Regions from separate parts of the Homo sapiens genome. Here region 1 is linked to region 2. The links are contacts of gene promoters, found by promoter capture Hi-C in blood cells and fetal thymus (Javierre and others, 2016). All regions are on one chromosome and are shown on one strand. Each heading gives the region's core, a stretch centred on a gene start or on the middle of the fragment in contact. The rest is flanking DNA. Distances are from core to core; before and after follow the strand shown. Region 1 holds the start of BIRC3 (baculoviral IAP repeat containing 3). Region 2 holds the start of RAB30 (RAB30, member RAS oncogene family).

Region 1 (3,664 bases), core at 545-3,044, about 19 Mb after region 2:
ACACTTGGCTCATTTTTGTATTTTTGGGAGAGACCGGTTTCACCATGTTGGCCAGACTGGTCTTGAACTCCTGACCTCAGATGATCCACCCACCTTCGCCTCCCAAAGTGCTGGTATTATAGGCGTGAGCCACCATGCCTGGTCAAAGAGGAATTTTTTTTTTTTTTAACACTTAGATCCTTATGATCCCAGAGAAAAAAATAGATTTCAAGTTCTAATATGTATTTGTTTCAGAGATATGTGACAGAGAGATGATAAAAGATGTTCAGTACAAACATGTATTAACATTCTGTAGGGGAATTGGAATGTTCAATGACAAAAGGCAATGATAAAATATTTTCAGTTATTAAAGATGACCTGATAATTGCTTCATGGATGATCATGTATGTCAAATTACTATGGTATTAGGATCCATCAAATACATTTAAAAGAGTGCTCTATCAATTTTTTCTGAAAATATCTATGTTTACATTTTGTAGATTCTTGACATGTACAAGAGCTTTATGTTTTAATGTTAAGTTAAAAATGGGCAAGGGAATGCAGAGCTTTTCAAAATTCTTCTGGTGAGTACATAATCAAAAATGTGTAAGGCCTGCAAATTATTTTCAATAATCTCAGGAGTGAGTTGAAAATGGCTTAGAAAGTCTTGATTGAAGCAGACTCAAATGTGGATTAAAATCTCCATATGATAAATACACTTAGTCTTTCTGAAATAATTCCAACTGGAACTTCAGCTGCTATGGACAGCCAAGTCCACCTAAACAAGAGGATGCCTCAGCTCAGTCCAATTGCGTGCAGAATGCACTGGATGCTGTTTCCACAGAACGATGAAGTCTCCAATAATCTTTATGGGCTCTGTCTCTGGTTGGTAATTGTCTTTGATCTACTGGAAGATAGAAAATCAGATGAGCTCTCCAAATCCATCTGTTACCCTGGTACGGATGGCTCTCAGATAAAGTTGCTTAAATTTACTGCTTAGAGAACGTTGAGGGAAATATGGCAGTGCAATTAGACTCAAAGATGTCAGGTTTCCCTGAGAATGGCACTGCAACTCAGAAACCTGCCCTGTGAGATCAAAGGCTATAAAGGAGGGATTTTTTTAAGTAGCCAACTCCACCCTACTTATTAAAAAAAAAAAAAAAACAACTCACCAAACCAAACAAAAGTATTTCCATACAGAAAATTTACCAAGCCATTTCAATCTTTAAAATGGTAAAATAAACTGCAAAGGAGAACTGCATGATTTTTTTCACATACCCCTACATTTCCTTTCACCTCTTACTTTCTTGATCAGAACAAAAAGTAAAAATAAATAGAAATATTTCACAAAGTTTCGATTTTTTTTTTTTTAAATGCTGGACTTCTGCAGCTATAGTAGAAGATTGAAAAACCTAACCTTTTTACGTGTAAAGTGTATGGCGGATGGAGGGTGGAGAACAGGGCATATTGACCTTTTCCAGGCAGGCTAAGCAATGATCGTCCTCTCTATATGGGTTGTTATCAAGATTTCCTCTGACCCACGAGCAATGAAGCAAATGTCTTTCAGTAAATGCCGCGAAGATATGCCACGGTTAAGAGTCATGCTTTTGGGTCATGGAAATCCCCGAGTGGGTTTGCCAGGCCACTGATTAAGAGGAAGTGTGTGTGGTTATTACCGCTGGAGTTCCCCTAAGTCCTAAAAGGAAAGCACCAGTGCACATGCAAACCACTGGGAGGAGTGCGGAACGCCTGGTACAGATAGGGGTGGGGATTTGGGTGACGCATTTAAAAGACAGCGTGAGACTCGCGCCCTCCGGCACGGAAAAGGCCAGGCGACAGGTGTCGCTTGAAAAGACTGGGCTTGTCCTTGCTGGTGCATGCGTCGTCGGCCTCTGGGCAGCAGGTGGGCAAGGAAGGCTGGTGTGTGTGTGTGTGTGTGTGCGTGTGTGTGTGTGTATGTGTGCGCGCGCGCGCGCCTCCCCTGGTGTAAGAGATGTGCCAGCGGCTGGCCGAGGGGCGCTTAGGGCTAGAGCCCGGGGCGCTGCAGAGGTTGAGAGTCAGTGGGTGGGGCGCAGTTATCAAACACCAGGGCCCAAAAGCAGGCTCTAGATAGGTTCCAGGTGCTCAATTTCTATTTCACGTTTGGAGTGAGCCAGTGGAATTGTGAAGTTGTGGCATTTTGATTCGGTTGCCAAGAGTTATCACTGGGCCTTTGCAGGTGCCAAATAAATTTCAGGACAGAGCCTAAGGCAGAGCTCTGGCACAGGAAGGAAGTAAAACGTTTAATGAGCAAATGGACGCATGTTTCCAAGCGGTGGTAGGAAGACAGCAGTTTTTGGTTGTCTTCCTGGTGATCAGCATGGAAACCTAGTAGTGCTCTTACTCTGATCAATACATTGTCGAAGGCATGTACCTGATGCTAACGTAACAATAATATTAAATATTGACTTTATTTGCTATTATTTATTGCTAACATTAAGTACTGCTACCTGCTATGTGCTAGGTTTGTCTCTGAAGACTTTACATGTATTTTTCACGTTTAATTATCATAATCTTAAGAAGCAGGTACCATAATTATCTCCATTTGACAATGAGGAAACTGAGGCTCTTGGAGATTTACTTGTGCAAGGTCATGCTTCTGGTTACCGGACTGCTTGGTATTGGGCACCCCCGATGTCTGACTCCAAAGCCTGATACTAATCAATCACTGAGCTGACTCTGTGGTCATTAATATAAAATTGATAGAAGTACTGTGGTCACTCAGGTCTCAGTCATTTACTTCTTCAACGGGAAGTCTTCGTGTCTACCCCATATACCAAGCTCTGCAGATGCTATGAGTGGGAGGGCAGGTACAGAGATGAAACATATTAATAGTTGCCATTCTAAAAGAGCTTACTGTCTAGCGGGAGGCAGAAAGAAAAGGCACACTTGCCCTCCAGTGTCAGAAAAATGGATGTGCTGCATGCCCAAAGGGTAGGGATGCCCAACAGCCCTGGGACTGGGGAGGTTGCCTTCTTGGTAGGTTAAATGAATGAGTCAGAAGAGGAGAGGCTGGGGACTGAGCCAATCTGAGAAGGAACCACTAGAAATGAAAGAAGAATCCCAAGAGCTTGGTATCAGAGAAGCCCAGGGAATGGGACATTTCTAAGAGGAAGTGTGTCCCAGTGTCAGATGCAAACATTTCCATTGGTTTTAGCAAAAAAGCCATTGGTGTTATTAACACCGAAAGCAGTTTTAAGTGATGCTGACTTAATGAGTAAATGGGAGAGGGAAAATGGAGACATTAACCATACACACATGTCCAGTTTGCTTGGCTGTGAAGAGAAGGGGTGATACAGGGTAGTTGCTAGAGTGGAAAGTGTGGTTGAAAGAGGATTTTTTTTTTTTTTTTTTGAGACAGAGTCTCACTCTGTCACCCAGGCTGGAGTGCAGTGGTGCAGTCTCGGCTTACTGCAACCTCCACCTCCCGGGTTCAAGCGATTCTCCTGCCTCAGCCTCCTGAGCAGCTGGGACTACAGGTGCATGCCACCACACCCGGCTAATTTTTTGTATTTTTTTTAGTAGAGACGGGGTTTCACCGTGTTAGCCAGGATGGTCTCAGTCTCCTGACCTCGTGATCCACTCGCCTCAGCCTCCTGAAGTGCTGGGATTACAGGCATGAGCCACCACACCCGGCCGAAAGAGA
Region 2 (3,771 bases), core at 1,272-3,771:
ACTGCTGTTACATAAACAAATATAGCCACTATCACACTCTTCCCGTTAAGAGAAGAGAATAAAATAACAAACTTCTTTCCTGCACAGAGGAGAAGAAACAACCAGGGTGGGTGGGGAACTGTTGTCCTCCAAGTATCTTCAAAAAACCAAATGGGCAGTTTGGCCACCTGGATTGCTACTCAGCAATCCACAGGGAACAGGAAGAAAGAGGGGGGAAAGATCAGCCTTCCCACCACCAGCTGCAGCAAGGATAAGGAAAAAAAAAATGTATTGTATAAGGCAAGCCACTTGAAGACTACTTATTCCTTGGGAATTATGAGAACATTTCATGTAGAGCATTTAAAAACCTTGCTAATCCATAGGCAGGTGCCAGTGAAAGGAAAAGTGGCATGAGCCCAACTGCAGCATTTCATTGTTCACATGCTGCTGGGGCTAAATTATGTCTGTCACAGGAACTACAAACCAGACCAGGGGTCAGGCTCATTGCTGCTCATCCTGCCAAGCACAGACTGCAAGAAAAAGAAAAGGCAAAGAAATTCTCTTCAAAGAGGATTCTGCAAAAATATTCACATAGTCTACATCCACCCAGGAGTTCCTAGTTGAAGTGGAGGACCAGGGAGTGTGTTCTAAGATTGAAGAGAAAGAGATGTGATATGCTGGTGATAAAGGAGGGGTTTTGAAACAGAAAGGAAAAATGTAAACTGCAAATGGAGAGATAGAGAAATAAACAGAATTTCAAGAGATGTGGGTGGGATGGGGTGGGGTGGGGGGAAGAAATGAAAGTACAGGAGAGAAGGGTAGGGTGTCCAGAAGAGCAGAGCGTCATCAACAGAGAGACGCAGAGGCAAAGGCTAACTGTTGATCTTTTCCCAAATCCAAAAGCTGCTCATTGGCATCCCAATAAATCACTCTACTACAAAGCCCATACAATGGACTGTCCTTTGCATTCAGCATCAAGCAGCATTTAATGAAATATCACACAGCTACAACTTTGGAGACCTAAGGATCTGAATTTAAAATGAACAAAATTGGCTTAGCAGCAGAAGACAGCCAGTAAAGAATTTCGCCCATGTCTGACTCAGCTAGGAAAAGGTTTAGCATTCTAGAGTTAAGCAAATACTCTGGCATTTCTCCTTCTTTTGACATTCCAAGAGGGGGTGTGGTTGACCCCAGGCCCATTCATTTCCAAGGGTGTAGATCTCTCAGCCAAGACTGGCCCCATCTGTTGTGGAGCCAGCCAGCTGTTTATCTCAAAGTAACATATCTATTGCCCTAATTATCCCTATAACTCTTACAAGAGCATCATGTAAGTCAGAATGCTTTCTCTCCTGTTAAATGTCAGTTCGTTTAAAAAAACAACAATAACAAAACAACCAAAATCACTCTTCCATGGGCACCTTTCAGTAATGGCAAATGAAGGTTAACAGCGCTTCTAACTTTCCCTTTCTCTAATGTGTTAAAATGAACCCCTCTTCCCTAATCGATCTCTTCAAACCGTTATTTGTGAGTAGTGACTATGCCTCAGGAAACAGCAGCTCATTATGGTACCATTGTCAGTGGCAAAGAGCCTATGCAATGTAATTTAAAACACACAAGCACAAATCTGTCGGCTCCACTTCCAAACAATCTTGAATCCAGCAGTCGGAGAACGGAAAACATTTAACAAAAACGCTGCTTCCAGCAGCCTGAAAGAACCTTCGCCAGACACGTGAAATGTTTCTGACTGGCACGGAGTGCACCATTAAAGGACACTGTCACCTCAAATCAGCAGAAAAGGCGAGACAAACCACATAGACATACACACATAAAATAAAGCCCTACAAAACTTAAGCACGTTCATCTTAAAAATTAATAACTAGTGCTCGTCCAAGCGACATTCAAATGTTCTAAAGTAGTGCGACCACATTAATTCACTGTCTCCATTTCTCCCCACGCATCACCCCTTCCCACTCAAACCTCAGCTCTCGGGCCGTGTGTGACAGGACTGCAGTCCCCCACCTCTGCCTTCCTCAGATTTTCCAAGAGCACTCCCCAACATCCTTCCCAGCCCAGCCCCCTCTCTCCGCCTCAAAAAGGTTGAGAGGAGTTGCGACTAGGGAATTGGCAGGCACCCGTCCTCTGGCGGGGGAAGGTTGCTGGAGTTGTTCTTTGCAGTGACCCAAATGGCACAGAGCTTTTCCCCTTAGCTGTGCCTGCAAGCCTCTCCCCAATCCCCCCCACCTCCCCACCGCTCACAGCTTCCCAAAAGAAAGCCTTGAGAACTAAGCGGGAGGAATAACTTGGTAGAAGCATTTGAATAAATCACTTCAACTCACCTGGTTTGGGATTTTTCTCCCCACCCCAGGCATAAACAGAAATGGATGTGCGAATGAGTCACGCACGCAAGGGAAGGTCTGCGATGTCCTGAGTCCAAGGGCTGGAGTCAGTCCCTGCCCTGGTGCTGCTGCTACACTTAGCTCAGCTGGAGCGAGCGGCAATCGCAAGCCCAGCAGCAGCAGGGGGTGGAGAGACCGTAGCACAATGAATGCAGTGGGGCTTTTGCAATGACATCATCCCTCTGTCCAAACGTCCCCAATAGCCATGCTCGGGAGCGGTGCTTTCTGGGAACTGTAGTCTTCTTACGTCCTGAAGGGATACCCAGGCAATCCCCGAAACTACAATGCCCAAAATGCTCCAAGTGGGACGCGCCCAGAGTGAAGGAGCAAAGGGGACTCGGCCGCCATGTTAGGAGTACTGGGACGATTCCGCGGAGCCGGGCAGAGGTTTTAGGGGTGCGCAGGAGTCAAGTGGTGGTTCAGTGGGGACGGTGAGGTGGAGGACGATCTGGTCGGATAGCCGCGGGCACGAACCTGGGAACCAGAGGGTGGAGGCCATGCTGGGGACTGATGTAGGGCGGGACCGACTGGAAGCGGCATCCAGAGGCCCAGTGAGCCTCGGTCTCAGCTCCTGAAGGGGTTGCATGGGGCCCTACGCTTCCTTCTCCATTTTTTAGCTAAGAGATTGAGAGAGTCGGTTTACTTTTGGGCTTGGAGTATCATTTAGATCTGTTAACAGTACAGTTGAGAGAGTTGGTGTCTTTTGTTGAGGTGCGAGGACCCGAGGCGGCGACCCTCGCCTTTATTCGGAGAAGCCCACTTCCACCCACAGAGTTGGGGTAGTCCTCCGAAATGCATTTTTGTTTTGCCGTTTGTTTTCCAACCCCCTTTCACTCTCCCCAAAGCTTCAGATTCACTGATTTTTCATACAGGAATGATTAACAAAGGCGTCCGAAGAAATCGTTGTTGGAAGGTGACCAAGGTGGAAAGAGACGTTGCTTTGGCCCTGCAAGTAAGAAGAGAGAGGGAATAGCCTGAAGGAGTAACACTAAATTTAAAATGACACTTTTTTACCAACCAGCGAAAGCAGATGTTCAAAGGGGATATTGGCCAGGTGCGGTCGCTCACGCCTTTAATCCCAGCACTTTGGGGGCAGACGCGGGGAGATAGCGTGATTCTAGGAGTTCAACCCCAGCCTGGGCAACATGCGGAGACCCCGTACCGTCTCTACAAAAACATTAAACAAAAAAATTAGCTGGGCATGGTGGTGTACCCCTGTAGTTGCAGCTACACTAGAGGCTGAGGTGGGAGGATCGCTTGAGCCCGGGATGTTGAGGCTGCAGTGAGCCTCGATCCTACCACTGTGCTCCAGCCTGGGCGACAGCAAGCCCGTGTCTCAGAAAAGGCGGGAGGGGTGGGATATTATTGATGATAGGCCTTCTGACGTCTGGCAATA

What was found. The method cuts DNA at HindIII sites, captures the fragments that hold promoters and counts their contacts. A CHiCAGO score of 5 or more calls a contact.
Region 1: the fragment with the promoter of BIRC3 here is called in contact with the fragment with the promoter of RAB30 in region 2 in 1 of 17 cell types (total B cells); the score reaches 5.6 in total B cells.

What each region holds. Positions count from the first base shown.
Region 1 is chr11:102,315,690-102,319,353 of GRCh38, forward strand. BIRC3 (baculoviral IAP repeat containing 3) reads left to right here and starts at 1,795. Exons shown (of 9, transcript NM_001165.5): 1 at 1,795-1,882. It overlaps LOC124902739 (a long non-coding RNA gene), which reads right to left and starts at 1,554. Exons shown (of 2, transcript XR_007062864.1): 1 at 1,397-1,554; 2 at 206-883. RefSeq lists enhancers at 1,242-2,441, 1,346-1,415, 1,426-1,785, 2,587-2,786, 3,047-3,096. The HindIII fragment of the contact is 7,438 bases long and covers 1-3,664 here.
Region 2 is chr11:83,069,376-83,073,146 of GRCh38, forward strand. It overlaps RAB30 (RAB30, member RAS oncogene family), which reads right to left and starts at 2,522. Exons shown (of 5, transcript NM_001286060.2): 1 at 2,316-2,522. RAB30-DT (RAB30 divergent transcript) reads left to right here and starts at 2,691. Exons shown (of 3, transcript NR_038903.1): 1 at 2,691-2,771; 2 at 3,248-3,429. LINC02951 (long intergenic non-protein coding RNA 2951) reads right to left here. Exons shown (of 3, transcript NR_186233.1): 3 at 3,027-3,321. RefSeq lists enhancers at 412-461, 482-711, 2,475-2,964. The HindIII fragment of the contact is 10,527 bases long and covers 1-3,218 here.